Regions from separate parts of the Homo sapiens genome. Here region 2 is linked to region 1. The links are contacts of gene promoters, found by promoter capture Hi-C in human tissues and cell types (Jung and others, 2019). All regions are on one chromosome and are shown on one strand. Each heading gives the region's core, a stretch centred on a gene start or on the middle of the fragment in contact. The rest is flanking DNA. Distances are from core to core; before and after follow the strand shown. Region 1 holds the start of ITGB2 (integrin subunit beta 2). Region 2 overlaps ADARB1 (adenosine deaminase RNA specific B1).

The links. The method cuts DNA at HindIII sites, captures the fragments that hold promoters and counts their contacts. A contact is called where the count stands out against the background at its distance.
Region 2: a fragment that was not itself captured here is called in contact with the fragment with the promoter of ITGB2 in region 1 in 3 of the 25 tissues and cell types used here (dorsolateral prefrontal cortex, heart left ventricle and spleen).

What each region holds. Positions count from the first base shown.
Region 1 is chr21:44,918,390-44,924,444 of GRCh38, forward strand. ITGB2 (integrin subunit beta 2) reads right to left here and starts at 2,510. Exons shown (of 16, transcript NM_000211.5): 1 at 2,432-2,510. It overlaps ITGB2-AS1 (ITGB2 antisense RNA 1), which reads left to right and starts at 2,646. Exons shown (of 3, transcript NR_038316.1): 1 at 2,646-2,938. RefSeq lists an enhancer at 1-17 and a silencer at 1,101-1,160. The HindIII fragment of the contact is 46,650 bases long and covers 1-6,055 here.
Region 2 is chr21:45,150,741-45,156,795 of GRCh38, forward strand. The region is part of intron 2 of ADARB1 (adenosine deaminase RNA specific B1); the gene reads left to right. Among named protein-coding and RNA genes, the nearest start is that of ADARB1, 79 kb to the left of the region's middle. RefSeq lists an enhancer at 613-1,469. The HindIII fragment of the contact is 4,613 bases long and covers 500-5,112 here.

The DNA.
Region 1 (6,055 bases), core at 1,260-3,759:
GGCCCGGCCTGGGCCAGAGTGGACAGACCTGGGCCTGGCAGGAGCCCTGGGGAAGTGAGTTCAAGTTACACGGTTGACTATAGAGACAGCTGGAGTGCGCACAATTGGCCAGACCACCCCTCCTGTTTCACAGATGGGGAAACTGAGTCACGGGGGACCAAATAGCCTGCTCACCCCATGCCCCTTCCAGACAGGGTGCAGATAGGGCCCCTCCCATCTCCTGGATGGCCGCGGCCCCTGTGCAGAACTTCCTTCATGGGCACCTCGCTGTCTGGGGGCCTCTTCCCCAGGGAGTCTCCTGGTGGTGGCCGTGTTGCCTCAGGCTCACTGTGCACTAGGCAGGTCACGTCGATGCCGCCTGAGGGGCAGGGGTTACCACCCTGTGGTTCAGGTGAGAAGCTCCAGGCTCAGGAGTGTCCAGCTGCCTGGGCAGTGTTTGGATCTCATGCCAGCCCCTGCCAGGAGGCCCTGCTTCTCCAGCCCAGCCCACGCCCACCAGGAAATGCCCCTATTTACTCCCTTGAGGCAAAGGCCCTTGGGTGGCTAAGCGTCCCCTCTCCCAGCACTCGGAGCTGAGCGTCCCCTCTCCCAGCACTCGGAGCTGAGCATTCCCCTCTCCCAGCACTCGGAGGCACCTGCAGTTGCTCAGCTGTTCATTGAGTGCTGGGAGTGGAAACTCATACGCTGAGCGGCAGTGACGCTGCGGAGCTGACAAACCCCACAGCCCGCCCGGTCACCTGCTTCACCGAGGGCCACAGCCCCCCCGGGGTCAGGTGGCCACAGGGGTCCTGGCCATGTGGGACATCTGTTCTGTGGCCCTGCTCAGGATGGCACCCGGCGGGGACTGGCCCTGGGGCCGAGGCATGGGCTCAGCCGCCGCCCTGCAGGGACGTAGCCAGGGACCTCTTCCCAGCAGAGGGACTCCCCCACTCATCCCCAGAATACTGAGGGGCACGCTGGGTGCCAGGCTGGCAGGGACCCTGGGGATTCTGCTGTGAGCTGGATGGGGAAGGAGTTCCTTCCTAAAATGTGGAGTCTGGAGGCCACTCTTGGTAAAGTGCTGGCCCCCGGGGATTCTGCAGTGAGCTGGGCATGGATTCTGCAGTGAGCTGGGCTTCACTCATGGTGAAACGCTGGGGTGACGGCAGACAGCCCAGAGCTTCTAGCAGCTCATTTCTGTGAAGCCTCCAGAATCCGGCCTCAGCCCCCAAACCCGCAGGCGTTGCGCCACCGTCACGGGGAAGGCGAGTGACAGCGAGTGTCCCCTATGCCCCCACAGCTCGCTCCCAGGCTGAGCTCTCCGGCCATCCCCCCCCTTCCCCATTGCAGCCATGCCACCCCTCCTTCTCCCCACCCAGGAACTGACAGAGGAGAGGGGCCCCGGATGGACAGGGACAGCAGGGCAGAATCCCAGCTCCCAGATCCAGGGGAGGGGGGATTGGGTGTGGGGACGGTGGTGCAAGGGGTGGTGCCAGGGGTGGAGGATGCATGGGGAGGGCTGGCCCCAAGAGTGCAGTGTTGGGGGAAGGGGGCCAGGTGGGCCTGGGACCCAGGGGCGTGGCTTCAATCCCCCTCCCACCAGGACCTTGGGAATGGCCTCCAGGAGCCTGTTGTGGGGAGGCCAGGGTCACCAGCTGAACCAACTCGACCAGAATCGCACAGCGGTGCCCGCTCCCCTACAGCAAGACGTCACCCAGGGGTCCCCACGGAGGAGGCAGGGAAGCTCGAGGGTCCCAGAGGAGCATGGAGCATGTGCCACACCACACCACACTACATTACACATGTGCACCATACATGTACATACAACAGACTCCCCACATCACATGCGCACACTCGCACACCATACATGCACACACACACACCACACTACGCTATGCCACACACGTGCACCATACATGCACACCATGCCACACTACACACACGACACTACACACCACGAACCACACCACACCATATCACACACCACACACTGCGAGTCGATCTGGAGATGGAATCGCTGTAGCCAGGCGGGGCAGCATGCAGACAGGAGGGCCTAACACAGGCAGGCGCAGCAGGTTCACAGAGGAGGCCCCGGGAACCTGCCTCCTGCCCAGCCCGGAGCACCAGGACCCCCCAGCCGTCCCCCTAGGGGCTTGTGGGCCCAGCCTCTTCCTGGCCTTGCCGGCCTCACAGCCCCTTGTCCTCCCATGCCGGCCCCATCCTCAGCCGCAAGCGCTCCCAGCACACCATGTGGCTCTGCTCTTGGTGGCAGGCACTTCCCCTTGCCGGGTCTCAAAGGGGACCCTGGAGCAGACGGTCTGGAGACCCCTTCCTGCCAGACACCCCTGGGCCGGGGCTATAAGCAGGGCCACCAGGGTCACTCCAGGCTGGGGCAGGAGAGTGCTTCCCTCCAAAAATCACCGTGGACATAGCGGGGCCTCTGCACACTCACCCTCGGTGTGCTGGAGTCCTCGGCGGTGCTCCTGGCTGGGCGTGGGGGCTTTGCTACCAGTCTGCCCTGGGTCACGTCTAGAAACCTCAGCTGGAGGCGCGGGTCGTAAAGTCCTGACACTTCCTGTTCCTCTCAGCTCCTCCTTGGAGGAAGTGGTGGGTTGCACCACCGTGGCCCTTCACCCCTGCCCCTCTCCGCTCTACAGCAGCTCTGATGTCAGAGAGCGGCCCCTTGAGACAGGTGGGACATGTCATTTCTCACATGAGGTCCCGGCGAGAAGGACCTGCTTCCATCAGATTCACACTTGGGAGAGGGGCCCGGCCTCCAGGAGCGCCAGGCAGAAAGGGCACCCATTAGGAAGAAGAACACAGAGGCCATGGGAGTGAAAAGTTTGATGCTGGAAAGCAACAGTAGCACATTCTGCTACAGAGCGGAATGAAAAACCCTGGGGAGCAAATTCCTGAGCCAGAGAATGGAGCGGAGGAACCAGCCAAGGAGGATAAAGAGGTGGGAACAGGCAAGAAAACCTGGGTGCGTGCACGCATTGACATCCACCTGCATGTGAGGGCGGGAGGGGACAGAACAGGGACAGCGAGGAGGAGACACTCAGGTCACAGGAGGAAGGCTGCGGATCTGGGCGGGGACGTGGATTGCGAGGCCACTGAACACCCCAGGGATGGATGGATGAGGTCCTGTTAACTAGGGACATTAGGAGGATACCACAGAACACGAAAGGGAAAATACTACAGGCTCAGAGAGAGAGAGAAGGGAGAGGAGGAGGAGGAGGAAGAGGAGGGAAAGAGATTATACCTAGAAAAAAAACCCAAATCAGACATCTTCAGAGCAAGGACTCAGACACATTACTACCCTAAACTCTGTTTTATTTATTTATTTATTTTTATGTTTTCAGTTTTTTTTGAGACAGAGTTTTGCTTTTGTCACCCAGGCTGGAGTGCAGTGGCGTGATCTCAGCTCACTGCAACCTCTGCCTCCCGGGTTCAAGCAATTCTCCTGCCTCAGCCTCCCAAGTAGCTGGGATTACAGGCACATGTACCACCACGCCTGGGTAATTTTTGTATTCTTAGTAGAGACAGGGTTTCACTATGTTGACCAGGCTGGTCTTGAACTCCTGGCTTCAAGTGATCCATCCACCTCTGCCTTCCAAAGTGCTGGGATTACTGGCGTGAGCCATGGCTCCCGGCTCCTAAACTCTGTTTTAAAGATGTCTTGCAGAAATAGACATGAAGAAATCCATGAGAAATACAAGAGCAGATGATACAAAGTTGGGCAAAGAAATAAGTAAAAATTATGATGTCATAACCTGTTGATTTAAAAAATAGTGGTAAGAATATTAACGCTGTGAAACAAAACGCCTAGAGGACTGGGTTGGGAGGGGCCAGGGAGCACATTGCCGTTCCATCCTATCTGGGGAGGAATATAGATGCTTGTCAGTGGGCATTTTGATAGAAAATATCTAAGTATATATGCTAACAATTCAAGAGTCTCCTTAAGAATAAAAATAGCATGTATATACCTGAAAAAAAATATGACAAATCTTTATTTTGGGCATGGTGGCTCAAACTTGTAATCCCAGCACTTTGGGAGGCCGAGGTGGGAGGATCACTTGAGCCCAGGAGTTCGAGACCAGCCTAGGCAACATTTGGAGACCCAGACCCTCATCTCTACAAAAAAATTTTCTAAGAATTCGCCAGGCATGGTAGCACGCGATATGGTCCAGGCTACTTGGGAGGCTGAGGTGGGAGAATTGCTTGAGCCCAAGAGGTTGAGGCTACGGTGAACCATGCTTACACCACTGCACTCCAGTCTGGGTAACTGAGAAAAAAAAAAAAAAAAAAAGGCAAATCCTTTAAAAGAAAAAAGTAAGGGAAAATAGAACAAACAAGAAAGGTAAATAAAAACCAAACAATAAAACATTGGGAATAATTTCAAACCCATCAGGAATCACAGCACCTGTGAATGGGTTACATTTTCTTGTTTTAAATCAACAAGGTCTTGCGTTGGGTTTTAGAAATAAAGAGACAAAACAAGTTCCAATGAAATGTTCTCTGTCAAGGGTATCTTCTCATTACAGACTTAGCCTAGAAAATAATGAAGAAGGACAGAAAGAGAATACCATTCTACTACACCCGCTGATGACTTAAAGTAAGCAATGACCCTCGCTGCGAACGTCACGGACGCAGCAGACGTTATGCACACACCTTTAATGAATTAGTCTTGATGAAATAACAATAGAAATCAAGAAAAATAGAAAGAACAAATGTTACTATTGAGCCTGAATCAGGTCGAACTTTTTAGATCTACAAAGAAGCATCAGGAGGGTGTGTTAGATGACATCGTAGGGATGCAATTAGCAAAATCCAGGCTGAAGAAACCCTCACAAGGCAAACAGCACAGTACAAGAGGAGAGACGAAGGGAGAGAGACCCTTTAGATTAAGAGATTTAATCTCTTAATAGAACCAATTGCAATGCATGGACCATATTTTAAAATCATTGTTAATTGTTTTAAGTGTGACAATGGTTTGTGGTTATGTTAAAAAGTCCCCATCTTTTAGAGTTACATGTTGAAATATTTGCAGATGGTGCAGTATAATGTTTCAGATTTATTTCCCAATAAAGAGGGGTGGGTTGGGTTGGGGGAGAGTCGGGAGAGGTGTTGATACAACAAGATCACCTGTGAGTTGATTATTTTTGAAGCCACTGTTGGGGACATGGGGCTTCACTAATCTATTCTCTCTACTTCTGTAGATGTGTGAAATTTTTTGTAGTAAGATTAAAAAAACATTTCAAGGAAGTGTAAAGTTATTATTTCGCGGGTATAAAGTTCCCGTTTTGCAAGATGAAATGGTTTTGGAGAAGTTGGTGGTGATGGTTGCACAGTACTAAGTGTCCTTAATGCCACGGAAATGCATAACTTCAAATGGTTAAAATGGTGAATTTATGTTATGTATATTTTATCACAATTAAAAAGTAAAAAGTGTAAGAAAGGCTCTCTATCAGATAAACTGTTAAAAGAGAACACTGAAGGCTGAAAATAAAGAAACGGAAAATACACGTATGTGCTAGAAAATACTAACGAAGATATCGTGTAACATCAAAAAGATAGAAATCAAAGCAAAATGCATCAAATGGACAAAGGAAGATGTAGCCAATGAGAGTCAGAATCCACAGACAGTTCAGCAGCCATAATCCTTTGTGTGCCGAACTTCAAAATATATAAAACAAAGACTGACAAATATATAAGCAAACTGACACAGCCCCAAACAGCAAATATCTCTAACAGATCTCTCTCAGAAATAAACACATCAGGCCAGTCGCGGTGGCTCACACCTGCAATCCCAGCACTTTGGGAGGCTGATGTGAGCGGATCACCTGAGGTTAGGAGTTCAAGACCAGCCTGGCCAACATGGCAAAACCCTGTCTCTACTAAAAATACAAAAATTAGCTGGGCATGGTGGCGCATGCCTGTAATCCCAGCTACTTGGGAGGCTGAGGCAGGAGAATCACTCAAACCTAGGAGGCAGAGGTTGCAGTGAGCCGAGATTGTGCCACTGCATTCCAGCCTGGGTGATGAGAAGGAAACTCTTACTCAAAAACAAAAACAA
Region 2 (6,055 bases), core at 1,556-4,055, 230 kb after region 1:
TGATGTCTCGTTGTTCCACCTGTGACCAAGGGGTCCCTCTGGAAATGTGTGTGTACTGACACATGCCCTGGTGGCTCTTGTCTGATCCATGTCCAGGTTATTCCTGCCTGACCGTCACTCGTGCCAGGAGCCCAACACAAATTCAGGCACAAATTCAGTACACCACACAATGGGGGAAACATGTTCAAAGATTTTTACTTACAGGTCCTGAGCAGGGAGGGTGCCATGAGTCAGGAGGGCAGTCCTCTGTCCCTGGGTCATGCAAGCAGGAACAAAGGGTCAGGCAGAGAGAGAGAGCACTGCAGCCAACCAGCAGAACAAATAAGGGAGTAGGGTGGGGTCACTTGAAGTGTGTGGGCAGGTGCCTGAGTGAAAGATGCCTCTAGGTTCTCATCTCTGGTACTGGCTTGAGCCACTGGGTGTGGTGTAGAACTACAAAGTGTCAGGGGTGGCTGAACTCTGCCGCTACTAGGAGAAAGTGCAGCTCATATTCCAGATAGATGCTGAGGCAATAGAAAATGAAAAGAATTCACTATGCTTACGCAGAGTGTGTCTGGACACACACAAATTTAAGAGTAATAAGAATTGCTTAATATGGCATAATTTCCTTAGGTGCCATGTGCAGTTGTCACAAGCATTGCACTAATTGGAATAATGAATTAGAAAGTGGATGTTGGTCATTATTAGGAAAAGGTACTTTGTTACACGAGACAGTAATTGCATTGTGGCAAGAGAAAGAATCTGACTAATTAATTTGTCTTTTTTTTCTTTTGCCTATGAGTGCTTCTTCTGCTTGACTCCTCCCCATAATCGGACTCCTTCCAAGACAGCCTAATCTTCAGGGCATTTGGATGCAGCTGCCTTTTGTTCCAGAGACACAGGCCATCTCAGGGGAGGTATCTCCCTGGGGCCTGAACAGCGTTTTTCTAGACAAGAGGAGGCTGAGGGCTGTGGGTTCTGCTTTGCCAGCCCTGAATGCTGGATCCCGAGTGGCAGAGGCACCAAGTGCTGTATGATGTGTGTATGTGATGTGTGTGCATGTACATGTGTGTGATGTGTGTCCCTGCTCGCCCCAGGCTGGCCATGGTACTGTGCTAGTCACAGACTGGCTGTGCTGATCAAGCCAGGCACAGTGGAAAATGGGAAGATGTTGGCGTTTGCCCCTCCCTTGGCTGTGTGTCATTCACCTGGGGCATGAGCTGTGCCCCTGCTCTGCAGTAATGAACAAGGCAGGTCAGCATTGGTCCGAGACACGTGAGTTAAGAGAGGAGGAAGAGCACTCTCTGGGGGCGGGGGGATCCATTTGTCAGTGGCCTGCAGTTTCCTGTCCCAGGGATTTCACTGGTGACATCCTGACCACTCACCTGCACTTTATATGGAGCTGTTTTCATCAGCTGGCGTCTGCTGAGCCTCTGCATTGTGTTGTGTGGTAGCCTGTTACTTTTTGCAGTTTTATTTTCTAAACTGTACTCTTTTATTGATAGATTTTTTGTATTAGGATTTCCATTTAAACAGGACTTTGGTACGTCTGCTGTGGGAGATTTGTTTCCCTAGAAGATTCACGGCTGTCGTTCTCTCCCCTCTGCTCGTGGTGTTTTACTGTGACTGCGCTGAACGGTTAGCTGTCACATGTCATTCTCTGGGTGGTGTGCTCTGAAGTCATTGTGGTGTGTGGGCCCCTTCAGCCTAGTTCTGCCTAACTGCGGCATGATGAATGGGCCCGAGGCAGAGGAGGAGGCTCCCTCGTCGGTAGGGGCTGCTGTTGTCGCAGCTGCCGGCACACGGAAGTGAGTCGGTGTGCTGCTGCCCCGAGTGACTGAGGGACAGAATGAGGCTGGGGCCGGCCGGACTGGCATTGGCGTGTCTGCATGGCGTCGTCCACCACTGGGCCTTTGCACATGGGGACCTTTTTCAGCATCATGGGGCGTCGGTATAAAAGGAGGCGCAAGAAGCGCTCTGAGAGGAAAGGTAATTCATTTAGTTTTTATTCTTCAGTGTGAAGCATTTGTCTTTAATGCAATACAGAAGTGTTTTCTGGGATAGACGGCTTTGTGAATTAATCTTGCTGATGCCAGTTACTTCCTATTTTCCCTTTTTGAGTGCCTTTTTTGTTGTTGGCATTTTATAGAATTTTAGATAGGGGCACTTAAAAAGGAAGATTCAAAAACATGTCTGTAAACATGAATAGAAATCATTTAGCTTCAGAGTCTGGAGTATGTCTTTGGAAAGATATTTATAAAACTTTAAAGTTTGTAGCTTTGAGCTACAGAAAAGGTTTTTCTCCCAGAGACAGATGCTTATATGAGATTTCCTTTGCCGCACTCTTCATTAATGACTTTTCTACATTAAAACTGTTCTTCATGCTGCAGAAAGCAAGGCTGAGCAACCATTGTGAAAATATTTCCCCTTTAAAAGAATGGAGAGCAAATTCCTTACATTCTGCACTCCAGGTTAATACCAGTTTTTAATTCAACTTAATGTTTTAAGTCATTAAAATCTAGATTTTTTTTCTCAAAACCAGATTCAAAAGTTGTCCATGACTATACACATCACAAGCTACTGGTTTTTGGACCTAAATTGCTGCTTTAAAAGCTGTTGATGTTTTTTTTTTCTCTTTGTATAATATGAAATAATTAATAGAAAATGCCTTAGTGAAAAGATGTGTCTAGCCCGGAGAACAGCTGAACACAGGCGTGATCAGTGCCTCTGCCTCTGTGTCTTCTGGGCGCCCCCTTAGTGTCCCCCACCCGACAGGACTGGAGTACAGCGCTTCACCACCACAGGGCCCTTGGGACATGCTGTGGCAGGAGATGGCTGTTTCTTCAGGAAGTAAAATTAACCTCGGTTTTTTGGTGTGGCTTCCTAAGAAGAAGAACAGATGAATCTCAAAGTCAGCAATCTTGTAATAGTACCTTGTAATATAACAAAGGTGACAGCACCTAATGGAAGTCTGTGTCTGGGAGTGGGGAACCCCTGACCCTGGGCCCTCTGTGCACCGTGCTGCCAGGTGCTTGTGTCCAGGGCTGGGGATGCCACACCCTCGATGCTTTCCTGGACTGACGGGCGGTCTCAGGACAGCCAGTCTGTGCGGCCCCCTCTGCCCTCACCTCAAGAGGTCACAGCATTGGCCTGTTTTTGTTTCCTCAGTTAAGCTTTGGAAATTGAGATGTCACTAAGACAGGCAATAGGGAGTAAAACAAAGGCACAGGCAAAAACTAAAGGACATTTTTACCAAATACCCTCAATTTAGAATTACCACCACTTTTCCCATGGACACTCATCACTAATTATTTAAGTTGGGAAAAATATTGAGAAGTACAAGAATAATTCTGTCATCATTCTTTTGGAATTTACTGTGATTCAAGCTTAAAATGTCTTTTTCATGCATTCCATAATCTCATTCTGCAGTGGGAAAACCACTCTCAAATATGTTGCATTTTCAGACCAAGGTTATAAGAAATTGAGAGGGTTATAAGATGTAACAATGAGGCCCACATATTAAATGGCTTGTGTTCCTTGGTCATTCCTATGTGAGTAAGTTCATTGTGAGTGTTACTAAACAGTATCATGTTATGTGTTAGTTCTCGCTGTTGGTATTTTGTAATAAGCATTATCTTTGAAACTAATAAAAATACCTTTGAAATTATCGATATTATTAAGATTGGCCATCACATTTATACCAAACTGGCAAAGTTTTATAAGATGTAAAATAGTCTTTTATACTGTATATTTCTAAGGTACTGTAAATCATGTGTATTGCATGGTTTTTTCCCTAAGACTGATACAATGTACGCCTTTTAAAATGTAATTCTTTGATGAAAACAATGTAGTAGCAAGTTACGGGTTTTAGTTGGCTTCAGTGGCAATATAATTTCAGTGATTTTTTTCATCACTCCTGGATTATACTTGCAGTTACTGCCTTCCACAGGGCAAATAATTGACTGTTGACTGTGTGTGAGCCTCAGATGGGTTAGCTTAATCATCAGGAAAATAGGGCTAAAGAATAATGTACCATTTAAATACTGGCCAGAGTCCCCATCAAGCAGACACTGCCACCCTGGCAGATGCTGCCAGCACGAGACCTGGGAGAGGTCTGGGAGCCACAGGGCAGGATTCTGAGTAGCAGTTAGTGCCCATATATGGAGCGCTTCCTGCACCCAGCCAGTGCTCAGTGGCTGCTGCTGTAGCCTCATTCACTCACAGCACTGCTGCTAAGTTCATGACCAGTGGGAGGGGAGAGAGATGGGAACAAAGAGGCAGTCCTTCAGTCCCCACCCTCCTGCTGTCTGAATAGCATCCTGTATTTCCAGATGTATTTCTCACTGAGTGTTTTGTTTGTCCCCTATGTGATAACATCCTTATCTGTGCTTAGTCGTGTATGCACATGTGAAGACCACTGTCCTCTGGCAGCAGTTCTGAACTGTGTTTTAGTCTGAGGCTGGGCTCCCCCATGTTTCCAGGATAGAGGTGAACAGGGTGTGGGGACCTCTGTGGAGCTGGAGGTCCAAACGTAGAGAGGCCTGCTCCCCCTGAGTACTTCTGGAGGAGAAGCCCTGGAACTCCTGACCTTCACCCTTCACAGAGTGAGCAGAGCCAGTTGGCCAAGGGGAGGAAGCAGGCGGCTGTCGTACCAGCCTCCTTCTCTGGTGCCAGCCATGACTCTCACCTTACAAAGAGAGCAACCCTTTGTGAGATGCAGAGCATGGTAGCACCTGGAGGTATAGGACGGGATGGCATTTATCCACCCATCCATATACCAGTCCATCTACTCATTGTAGTCCATCCATCTGTCCGTCAACCTATCATCCATCTGTTCACTCATTTACCCATCTACCCACCCATCCATCATCCATCCACTCACCCATCCATCCACCCATCTACCCATGCATCCATCATCCATCTCTCCATGCATCCATCATCCATCTCTCCATCTAGTCATCCATCTATCTGCGCATCTACCCATCACCCATCTATTCATCCATCCACCCACCCACCCACCCATCATCACCTATCATCCATCATCCATTCATCCATCCATCCACCCACCCACCCACCCATCATCACCCATTACCCATTATCCATCATCCATCCATCCATCCACCCACCCACCCATCATCCATTCATCCAACCATTCATCCACCCACCCACCCTCATCACCCATTACCCATCATCCATCATCCACCCACCCACCCATCATCCCCCATCATCCATCATCCAGCCATCCACCCACCCACCCACCATCACCCATTACCCATCATCCATCATCCACTCACCCACCCACCATCACCCATCATCCACCCACCCAACCACCCACCATCACCCATCATCCATTCATCCATCCATCTACCCACCCACCCATCATCCATTCATCCATCCATCCATCCACCCATCATCACCTATCATCCATCATCCATTCATCCATCCATCCATCCACCTACCCATCATCACCCATCATCTGTCATCCATCCATCCATCCACCCACCCACCCATCATCACCCATCACCCATCATCTATCCAGCCATCCATCCACCCACCCATCATCACCCATCACCCATCATCCATCCATCCATCCACCCACCCATCATCACCCATCACCCATCATCCATCTATCCATCCACCCACCCATCATCACCCATCACCCATCATCCATCCATCCATCCATCCACCCACCCATCATCACCCATCATCCATCATCCATTCGTCCATCCATCCACCCACCCATCATCACCCATCATCCATCATCCATTCATCCATCCACCCACGCACCCACCCACCCACCCATCATCACCCATCACCCATCATCCATTCATCCATCCATCCACCCATGCACCCACTCATCATCATCCATCATCTGTCTTCCATCCATCCACCCACCCACTCACCCATCACCCATCAGCCATCATCTGTCATCCATTCATCCATCCACCCCCCCACGCACCCACTTCTCTACATTGTTCCGTTCATCCAACAAGTACTCATTACACCCTTCTCTGCATGCTGGCACCAGGGGTTTGAACATGCTTAGGGAAGATGGGGGTAATGGGATGGCAGTGGC